Regions from separate parts of the Homo sapiens genome. Here region 1 is linked to region 2. Evidence: promoter capture Hi-C in human tissues and cell types (Jung and others, 2019). All regions are on one chromosome and are shown on one strand. Each heading gives the region's core, a stretch centred on a gene start or on the middle of the fragment in contact. The rest is flanking DNA. Distances are from core to core; before and after follow the strand shown.

Region 1 (4,837 bases), core at 667-3,166, 550 kb before region 2:
ATTCCTCTGGATCCCTTGTCTTCTAGGCAGTTACCTGTTGGTGGCTCCAGCGTACTGGGGGAAAGGTGCAAGAGTAGCTGCTGCTTTTCTTTTCTTTTCTTTTTTTTTTAATGCAAAAGCCCCCACCCCTTGCAGATCCAGAGCTTCTTGATGGAGGTATTTTCAAGGGCTTCTAAAACTACTGTCTTTTCAAATGTCCTCTTCCTTTGTCCTGTATGGATTTGAACAATTTAGATCATATTTCACAGAGTTGTGTGATCTTGGGAAAATCACTTAACTTCTCTGAGCCTCAAATTCTTCACTAATAAAATAAGAAAGTTACTCCCTGTTCTAACATGCTGCAATTTAAGTACACATGTTTAAGCTACTGATTCCAAACTAAACAAATGATAACTTTCAGCCTATTACAGGCTATCGTTCTGGACACAAACCAACTGAGTCAAAGTAGTTCAATAAAATGAATTAGATTAGATCTTTCATCATTTTTTTTAAGTCTTAGCAGTCCTCCTTAAACCGTTTTTATGTTCAGCCTCACAACTTTTACAAGCAACGACCAAGCTGTAAATAGTTAAGGATTTCAAAGCCCTCCTCAGACCCAAACAATTTGGCTTTTTAGACTTCTGAATAAAATGATAAGCTAAAAGGTCTGCAGGAGAGCATCAGAAGTCTTCAGCAGGCCTTTTCCCGTCTAGGCTCTTATTCGGTGACCGGGCTGATAAAATTTCCTCTGTGAACGCTTAATATCTTCAAGCCAGACCTAGTAGCTACTGGTTCCCAATCAATTGCTATTCACACTCACACATCTGCACAGATAAAGCCACTTTAAACATCATGCTGTGGGGTCCTGACATGATGACAGAGCCACCAGCTGTCGGGGCACTGCACTGAATTGGGGACACAAACCCCATTTTTCTATGTAAATTGGCCTGGACGCTGCTTCGGCCCCCAACAAAACGGATAGTCCTGTTAAATGGGGCCATCTGGCCGTCCCCCGGCCCCAGTGACACCTCCGGGATGGGGCGAGCGGGAGTGATCTTCGGGGGGCCAGGAAGGTAGCGCGGTAGAGCGCAGCTGTCACCCCGGCCCCAGGGGTCCTGCCCACAGAGGTTGGGGGCGAGCAGATTCGCGGTGGTCTTAAGCCTCGGGGCCCGGGACGCCTGAGGGTCTCACAGCGCACTCCCGGGGTGGGGGAGGGCGCGCTTTGTTCCTGGGCCCCAGTGGGGCGAGGCGCCCGAGCCTTGGGCAGAGTCCCTACTTCGTCCCCGGGGCCCCAGGGCAGCTCCCGCCTGGCCGCGAACAGCCGCGGGCGCCTCCATAGCAACAGCGTGGGAGCTCCGCAAACCGGGAAGAGGAGCGGGGGAGGAGGGGAAGAGGGGAGGAGGGGAGCAGAGGAGAAGGAGAACAGGGGAGGAAGGGCGAGGAGGAGGGGAGCAGGGAGAAGGGGAGCAGGGAGAAGGGGCGCAGGGGAGGAGCTGGGGCAGGAAGAAAGACCGGGGGCGGCGGCGTGGATGGGGGGCAGGGAGAAGGAGCGCCGGAGGGGGAGCGGGAGGAGCAGAGGCGGGGAGCGCCGGCGGGAGAGGGGAAGGAGTGGGGGAGCCAGAGCTGGGAGGAGCGCGGGACGGGGAGCCGGGTAGGAGCGGGGATGAGGGCGCGGCCCCGGGCGAACCAGTCCAGCCCTCCAGGGCCGGGTGCCCGGGCCAGATTCTCCAGCCGAATTCCTGCCCCAGCTGCCTGGGGGAGGGAGTCGCGGGAGCCGGAGAGGGCGGGGACCGCGGCAGGCCCGTGGGACACCGGGCCCTAGGAGGAGGCGCGGGGGTGCGGGCGGCCGGGAGGGGGCGAGGTCCTGCCGCCGCTGCAGCCCACCCCAGCCCGGGAAGAGCAGCGCCCCGGGAACGGGTCTAGGGCTCTCTCCCTTGGCGAGAGGAGCCCTCGGAAGCGGCACCCGCCTTCCCATCCTCACCCAGAGCAGCCCTCAGTCCCCCGGGGACGTGCAGGCCCTCGTCCCCACGGGCTGCGAGCCAGGCCCCCGGAGGGGAGGCGCCGGCCGCGGAGGGAATTCCGAGCTAAGGCTTGCTTTCGCCTGGAGTGTTTTCACCAGAGAATATTTTCCGTTACACAACTATTAGAAAGGTGATGTGGGTTTTCATTTTCAGTCCACCCCTCACCCCAAATCAGGGACCTCGTGGAGAAAACATATTACTAATGCTAAGCTTGGAATTTTAAACAATGTTTTCTGATAACCAGCTGAAAATTTTTGGGAGAAGCCGAGTCACAAACAGATCATCATTCTTAAGTACTGTTTGCTAAGCGTCAGCTTGCACAAGATATTTCACAAAGCTGGCGAACCGGACGCGATCCTTGCTCTCATAGAGTTTGCCACAGAAATGGACAACAATTACATTCAGAAAGGCATTTTTGAATAGCTCTTATGACGTGGTGTTAAAGGTGTGGAAAAAAAGCTTATTTCAGACATGAGTATTTCCAGAGAAAATCTATAGATAAGTGCTGTATATTTTATTTTAAAAACCATTATAAAAAGCAAAGAGAAAAAAAATAAACTTTTGGAAGTTCTCAGCTAACATGGCCTATGGGAAAATGAAAATAAACCTAATTGAAAAAACAGCGCTCACCATAAATAGGTTTAGCTTTCAGGCAGGGAACGTGGTTTGGAAAAAAAAAAAAAAAAAAAAACACCAGCAGAAAATTCACCAATCAAATGTAAGGTTGTCCATGTTTCCTAAAGCAAAGGTCAAAGAATCCTCGGAAGCCCTAAAAAACACTGTTTCTGTGGATAGAGCCTGAGCTTTTGTTTTGCTGTTTGTTCTGAAAATCCAAATCGGTAACCCCTGTTTTCAGGTATTATCCAAAGGAACATTTTTTGGTTTCTTCTACCCACATACTCCCAAATTAGGCACCTACCTTAAAGTAACAGGAAAACTCGTGGGTTTGTAATTGTGTGATATCCCATCTGGTTTCAACTCTGTCGCTGACCAAAAAGAAAGGATGAAAAATGTAAGCAAACTTCTGTAAACTGTAAGTTTATCTATAAAACTCTAAATGTTCACTTATTTTGACATAACATGCATGACTTCTAGAATTAGATTTCCAACTAGTTGATATGTAGCATTTTGTGAGGGTTCGCTGAATTCCAGGCACTATTCTAAGCAATTTATAGACATTTGCATTTTACTGAATTCTCTTAAACTTAGAAGACAGGTACTATTATTATTCCATTTGATAGATGAGGAAACTGAAGTTTCGAAAGGGCATAAAACCTGCCCAGATTTGCCCAATAGTAGTCAACAGGGTTGGGTTGAAGACCCCAAACCTACCATCTCTGAGCAGTTAGTTTGTTCCCTGACTACACATTCCACAAGAGCAGAACCTCCCTCAAATCTCATCTAGGATAATATGGACTATAACTGTGGGCAAAAAAAAAATACTTATGGATTAATTGAATTTCTCACTTTTGTCCAATTTTTCTGGCAGAAGACAGACATGTAAATTCAAGAATCATTATTTTTAAGTGTTCCTCAGCAGTTATCATCCAAGCCTTTTTCATTCAAGGAGTCGAAAACTGTGCAATAGCAATATTATAAAAAGACTTTGAAAGATAATCATTATATTGACTTTGATATAGCAAAATGGCAGAGATAAGAGTACATTTGTTTTAAGAAATTAAGCAAGTAGACCAGCCTGGCCAACATGGTGAAACCCCGTCTCTACTAAAAATACAAAAAATTAGCCAGGCATGGTGGTGGGCGACTGTAATCCCAGCTGGGAGGCTGAGGCACAAGAGTCGCTTGAACCCAGGAGGCGGAGATTGCAATGAGCCAAGATGATGCCACTGCACTCCAGCCTGGGCGACAGAGTGAGACTTTGTCTTAAAAAAAAAAAAAAAAAAAAAAAAGAAGCAGTAAGTAAAAAAGTTTTTAAATAAAGACATGGGATACTGCCTTCCCCCTGCATTAATACTATTACTGATTCTTTGCACAAATTTTTAATGTAGCTTCACATGATTATTTAGAACTGTAACAATATTTAAAAGACATATTCTGAATTCATTCATAAACCATCTTTTTAGAATTTGGTTGTATCCTGTTGGATAACGTTGACTTGTTTCTTTATTTTCTATCAAAGGTCTGACCATAACCTTAAATTCTTAGGCAACTACAAATTAGGAGGAATAGGCTAAGCATCATTTGATGTTTGTCTGCACATCAGTCAAGTGAGGGTTCAGAGTCATCTGCTGAATTTGGCCTCTGTAAGTGAATAATGAGAATATATCCACCTTTAAAATCTTTTGCCTTTGCATCTTTTCTTCTGTCTCAGTCAGTCCTGTGGCCCTTTCCTGGACTGGGCGAAGGGAACAACACAGCAGTGGGTGATTGAGGAAAGGGAGCATGAAAGAAACAAAATGGGAACATTTGGAACAGAGGTGGCCTAAACATTAGCTTTTCCCTGTGCAGAGTCACCAAGGCCAGGAGCTAATCGTGGCTGGGTTCAGGATGAGGGCACGATAGGGAGACGAGGTGAGAATCAGTATTGGTACTGCCAATGTTTTTAGGCGGAGCACTAAAAGGAAGGTTTTTTTCAGGTTGTGGCTCAGGAGCAAGCTTGAATTTCAGTTGACTTGACTGGGGGCGGGGTAAGCAGGCCAAGCCCCCAGGAAGTTTTAGAGAGCAGGGAGTTACTCTGCTGTCTTCCTGCAGATCTGAAGGGGGAAAAGGGGGTGTTTGCCTGCAGCCGGAGCCATTCTCCCTGATGGCCCTGTGCGCCTGTCCAGAGAGAGGGAGCCAGGGAAGAAGCGGACAGACAGATGCCTTCTGGCCCACCC
Region 2 (5,051 bases), core at 245-2,744:
CCCAAGTAGCCGGGACTACAGGCATGCACCACTGCCCCAGGCTGATTTTTCTATTTTTTGGTAGAGACTGGTTCTTGCTATGGCCCAAGCTGGTCTCGGACTCCTCATCTCAAGCAATCCTCCCTCCTCAACCTCACAAAGTGCTGGGATTACAAGTGTAAGCCACCCTGCCCAGTCAGACTGAGGGTTCTTGAAGACCACTGGCCATGCTCTTTACAATTTACCACACTTTCTCCTGAAAAAAAGTGGAAGTAGCACTATCCGTAGAAAATAATGTTCTAGGCAAGAGTCCATTAATAGTCTCGGGAGATAAACAGTTTTAACTGCCAAGAGGGAGAACTCACCTGGAGAATTTAATGAATTTGTAAGGACTACCATACAGTTAGCTAGTAATAATTTTATGTGATTCATACAATTGTGCACCATTCTGAGATCAGTGTACTTCGTGTTCTTAACACTATCTGTACCATTAGAGAGCATCAGAAAAGCTTAAAACCCATAGTCAAGGCATTCTTAAAATAGGGTCTGTGATCATAAAAATTCTTTCTCTCGAAGTACTTGCAAATGAACTGGAAAGGTGTGTGCCCCCAAAATAAAACTAACTGTGGATTAATATTAAACTGCTGGGTCAAAGATAGACGGACAACTAATTAATAAACACTTAAGAATGATGTTAGGCTGTTTTGAACAGGGTGGGTAAATTTTGGGAATTAACACTGCAGGAGAAAAGGGAAAGAAAATCCAGAGTGAGGGTGGGGGCCTACGGCGGTGCAATACTTAGGGACATTCCAAAACTTCTGAACTCCTAAGTTAGATAATAGGTATCTAGAGGTGTCAAAACATTTCAGAAAAACTATTTTTGTGGCGTGAGTGGACTGGCTGCAGAAGTGGCAAAGGACAAACTTGGATGCAGGGTTTGGCAAATGTTGGGTGAGCCCTAATCTGTGCCTGGTGCTAGGGACCCTACAGCAAAGTTCCTCTTTTCAAAGTTTAAAAAGTTGGGAGTAGACACTAAATATTATTAAATATTTAATATTAATATGTGGCATATTAGAAAGTGCTACATGGTACTAAGAAAAACAGGTGCCAGAGAGTCTGCATTTGGGCTTCCACTTCTAAATAGGGTAATCAAGGAGACCCTCATATTTGAGTGAAGACCCCAAACTCGAGTGCTGGCGGCCATGTAGGGGGGACGGCAGGGCGGGAGAACGAGCGTCGCGTTAGCAGAATTTACAGTACAATGGGGTCCAACGGATGCCCAGGAAGGCGAAATTCCTGCAAGTTAAACGCACTTCTAACGCAAAACTTAACCAGGCCCCTTTCCAACTATTTAGCCCACCAATTTTAGCTTAAGTCTCTTCTTCCCCACGCCACTCCCAGATGAAAGGAAGACACGCCTCGTTGGCCTCCAGAGCTCTGCGTCCGGGGGGCGGACCTCTCATAGCTCCGCCCCGTGACCCGCGCGCTTGCGGAGGGGAGGTCAAAGGTCAGAGGTAAAGAAGTCATGGCGGCGCTGTGTCGGACCCGTGCTGTGGCTGCCGAGAGCCATTTTCTGCGAGTGTTTCTCTTCTTCAGGCCCTTTCGGGGTGTAGGCACTGAGAGTGGATCCGAAAGTGGTAGTTCCAATGCCAAGGAGCCTAAGACGCGCGCAGGCGGTTTCGCGAGCGCGTTGGAGCGGCACTCGGAGCTTCTACAGAAGGTGGAGCCCCTACAGAAGGTGGAGCCCGGGCGGGTGAGAGGGAGTCGCGGGAATTACGCCAACGACGCGGTGGGCGGGGTCGGGAATAGGGGCGGAGCCTGGCTTAGGAAGGGGAGCTGAGGTCCGGGGCCCAGTTTTCCGGAGTTGCGGTGCGTTGTGGCTCAGCCCTCGGCCCCTAGAATCTGTGCTTGGTGTTTTTCTTCCTTTCGTTGTCCTTTTGTGTGGCATTTGCGTACTGGGCCGGGTCTGTCCACACTGCGCTTGTTTTCCTGGGATTGAATGCTGGTGGGAAGGTAACCAGCGGGGAGCGCTGCTGGGGAGGCGATCTAGGGCGATTCCTGGGACGCTAAGGAGAATGGGACTCACACGGAGAGGCAGGGCTCTGCTGGGTCTTGTTCTGAACAGTAGCTCTAGCATGGAGCTTGCTGTCTGGAGTAGAAGGCCCTTCATAAACATTTGTTAATTTAATGACTGGGTGATGAATCACTTTCTGAACTTGGGCAAGTGATTTAACTTGTCAGCGCTTCACCTCTCTTTTGTAAATGTCTTCTTTTTTTAAAAAGTAAAGTAAAATCTCCGTTTGTCTCAGCCAGTACTTTTGTAAAATACCATAAATTTATAGATAAATGAAATGGAAGAAATAAAATTACAAGCCTAAGTTTTTAATAATTAAACTCAGCAGACATGAAATTGAATTATATACAAATAAACTCTCAATTTCTGTATTTTTCTTCCTAGGGAGTAGTACCAAACAGTTCACAAGACTGGCAGTGTCCTGGGTTATAGGGTCATTTTAGTAGCAATTACTGATGTCAAAATTTTTCTGAAATCCAAGGACTAGAAGAAGCCTGGTATATTAGTTTATTATTTTCTGTTGTAACAAATTACTACAAATTTAGTGGCGTAAAACACAGGAAATGTGTTGTTGTTAGGGTTGTGAGAAGTCAGACGGGATCTCACTGGTCTAAAATCAAGGTGTTGGTGAAGTTGTGTTCTTTTCCGTAGCTTCTAGGAGAATCTCTTCCTGGCCTGTCTTTTCTGCCTCTGTTTTCTACTTTTTTGTTTTTTGGATTTTTTTGTTTGTTTTGTTGTTTTTTGAGACAGGGTCTCGCTCTGTCACCCACGCTGGAGTGTGGTGGCATGATCTCAGTTCACTGCTAAACCCCCTGGGCTCAAGTGATCCTCCTGCTTCATAGCTGGGACCGCAGGTGTGCACCACCACTCTGGGCTAATTGTTTTTTCTGTTTTTTTTTGTAGAGATGGGGTTTTGCCATGTTGCCCAGGCTGGTCTTGAACTCCTGGGTTCAAGTGATCCTCCTGCGTTGGCCTCCCAAAGTGCTGGGATTACAGATGACAGATGTGAGCCACCTGGCCTGGCTGACCCCGCCCGGCCCCGCCCCCCCCGCCCGTCTTCTGCTTTTGAGATCCCTGTGATTACATTGGCCTCCCTAGATAATCTATTTTAAGATCAGCTGATTAGCAATCTTAATTCCACCTGCAAAGTTAATTCTCCTTTGCCACGGAAGGTAACATATTCACAAATTCTAGAGATTAGGATGTGGATGTCTTTGTAGGGGGAGGGGGCATTATTCTTTCTACCATATATGGAGAAGTCATAAAATACTAGCAGAATAGCGATGATTGACCTGAAGCCACCTAAGGGATGGATTTTAGATCCATCCTTAAGGTAAGGCCATAAGAGTTAAGTGCAGTAAGGTTGGAAACATAGAGTTCAGTGCTCCCTTCCAAATATATGTATAGGAAAGGAGTTTTTCTATTTCTTACCTAATATTTCTCACTCACGCTTCGCTCCCATTCATACCACATTCTAAGCCCCTTCGGAAACCCCCCAAAATAATTCTCAATTGCTGAGTTAACTGTGGTAAGAGTGAAAATTGTAGCATCACATGTATAGTAAGTTAAGTGTTTGAAACTAAAAATGTACTGTTTATTTAATGAAGGAAACAACCAAGGTGTTTTAGAGTCCCCAGAATTCCCTTTCCTTTCCTTTTCTCTTTCCTTTCCTTTCCAAGGCAGTTCTAATTGGGCTGTTCAGTTTTTCCAGGAGGAGGCTGGGGTGTTTCCTGGCAGTCCCAGCACATCCGTTAGATTTTCTCAGTCCAGCTCAGGCTCAGCAGCATCTCTGCACCCTGCGTGGTTGTTCTCCGTCTAACACAGTTTAGAAAACATTATTCTACTAGATGATGGGTAAATGTGTTTGGTTGTGATGTACAGTTCACCAATTTCTTATTCACAAGTCTTTGACATCTTGGTTTAATGGAAATAAAATTCCCTGGGGAGGAGGATATCAGGAGGCTGTGTTGTAGTCTCCGTTCAGCAAGTTCTTAGCTTTGAAGCATTTGAAGTTTACGTGAACCCCTTTACTCCTTCTTAATTGATACCACTGACTTCAGTTGCTCCCTGGTTCAGGTCATTACACACACTGTGGATCAAGTTATCTTCCTAAAGTTGGGCTCTATAATCAGACTTAATGAGGTTATTTACTTATTGCTCTCCTTGAGAATCTTCTAAACCTCCATTCACACTGCCTGCAAGATTAAATATACAATGGTGCATCTCTCTACTGTGGCTTCAGAGGCCTACTGCCATTCAAGACCCTGCTTGGGTTAAAAGCTTCGGCTCAGTTCAGGTTTCCAGTTTCTGCCATCTTTCAACTGAGTGACTTTGGGCAACTTACTTAGCCTATCTAAGTTTGCTGTCTTATCTCAAAGTGGAGATAATGCTTCAACTGGAGTTACTGGGAAGTTTATGTGAAATAATACATTTAACGTGCTCTCAGTACATTGACTGGTACAGAGTAAGCTTTATTCAGTGCATTTTAGCTTTTATGTGGCCCCAGCCGTTTCTTCTCCAGCCTTCTGCCTTCCTGAGAATAGTTTCACAGAGATGCTTCCACAATTACACAGTTCTTTGAAGTCCCATTGTTTTCTTAATAATGAACTTTAATTTATCAAACCGTGTAGATTCATCTCTTGTAACTGATGTACCGCTCTGGTGGGGGATGTTGACAGTGGGGGAAGCTATGTGTGTGTCAGCACAGGAGGGGTATGGGATATGTCTGTACTGTACTCTCAATTTTGCTGTAAACCTAAAAGTACTCTAAAAAATAATTTTTTTTCTTAATGAATGAATATAAAATGCTATTTAAAAACATAAGGCAGTATATGCTCTAACTAGAGGTTGAGCTGTGTCATTCAAAGAGACAATAAAATTAAGTTTTTCATGGCAAAAAGCCCAAAACCAAACAAAAAACACCAGAAAACAACCATGCACATGCCATTTTTTTTAATCCCAAATGTAAGGACATTCGTCATCACTAATATGTTAACTT

Evidence for each region. Contacts are between HindIII fragments. The study calls those that stand out against the background at their distance.
Region 1: a contact is called between a fragment that was not itself captured here and the fragment with the promoter of MRPS28 in region 2, in 1 of the 25 tissues and cell types used here (mesendoderm cells).

What each region holds. Positions count from the first base shown.
Region 1 is chr8:80,575,250-80,580,086 of GRCh38, reverse strand. No RefSeq gene overlaps it. Among named protein-coding and RNA genes, the nearest start is that of LINC02986, 38 kb to the right of the region's middle. RefSeq lists a silencer at 1,783-1,852. The HindIII fragment of the contact is 3,245 bases long and covers 294-3,538 here.
Region 2 is chr8:80,026,702-80,031,752 of GRCh38, reverse strand. It overlaps MRPS28 (mitochondrial ribosomal protein S28), which reads left to right and starts at 1,494. Exons shown (of 3, transcript NM_014018.3): 1 at 1,494-1,717. The coding sequence starts at 1,505. The region is part of intron 5 of TPD52-MRPS28 (TPD52-MRPS28 readthrough); the gene reads left to right. It also overlaps a transcript of TPD52 not described here. RefSeq lists an enhancer at 1,342-1,771. The HindIII fragment of the contact is 9,025 bases long and covers 1-5,051 here.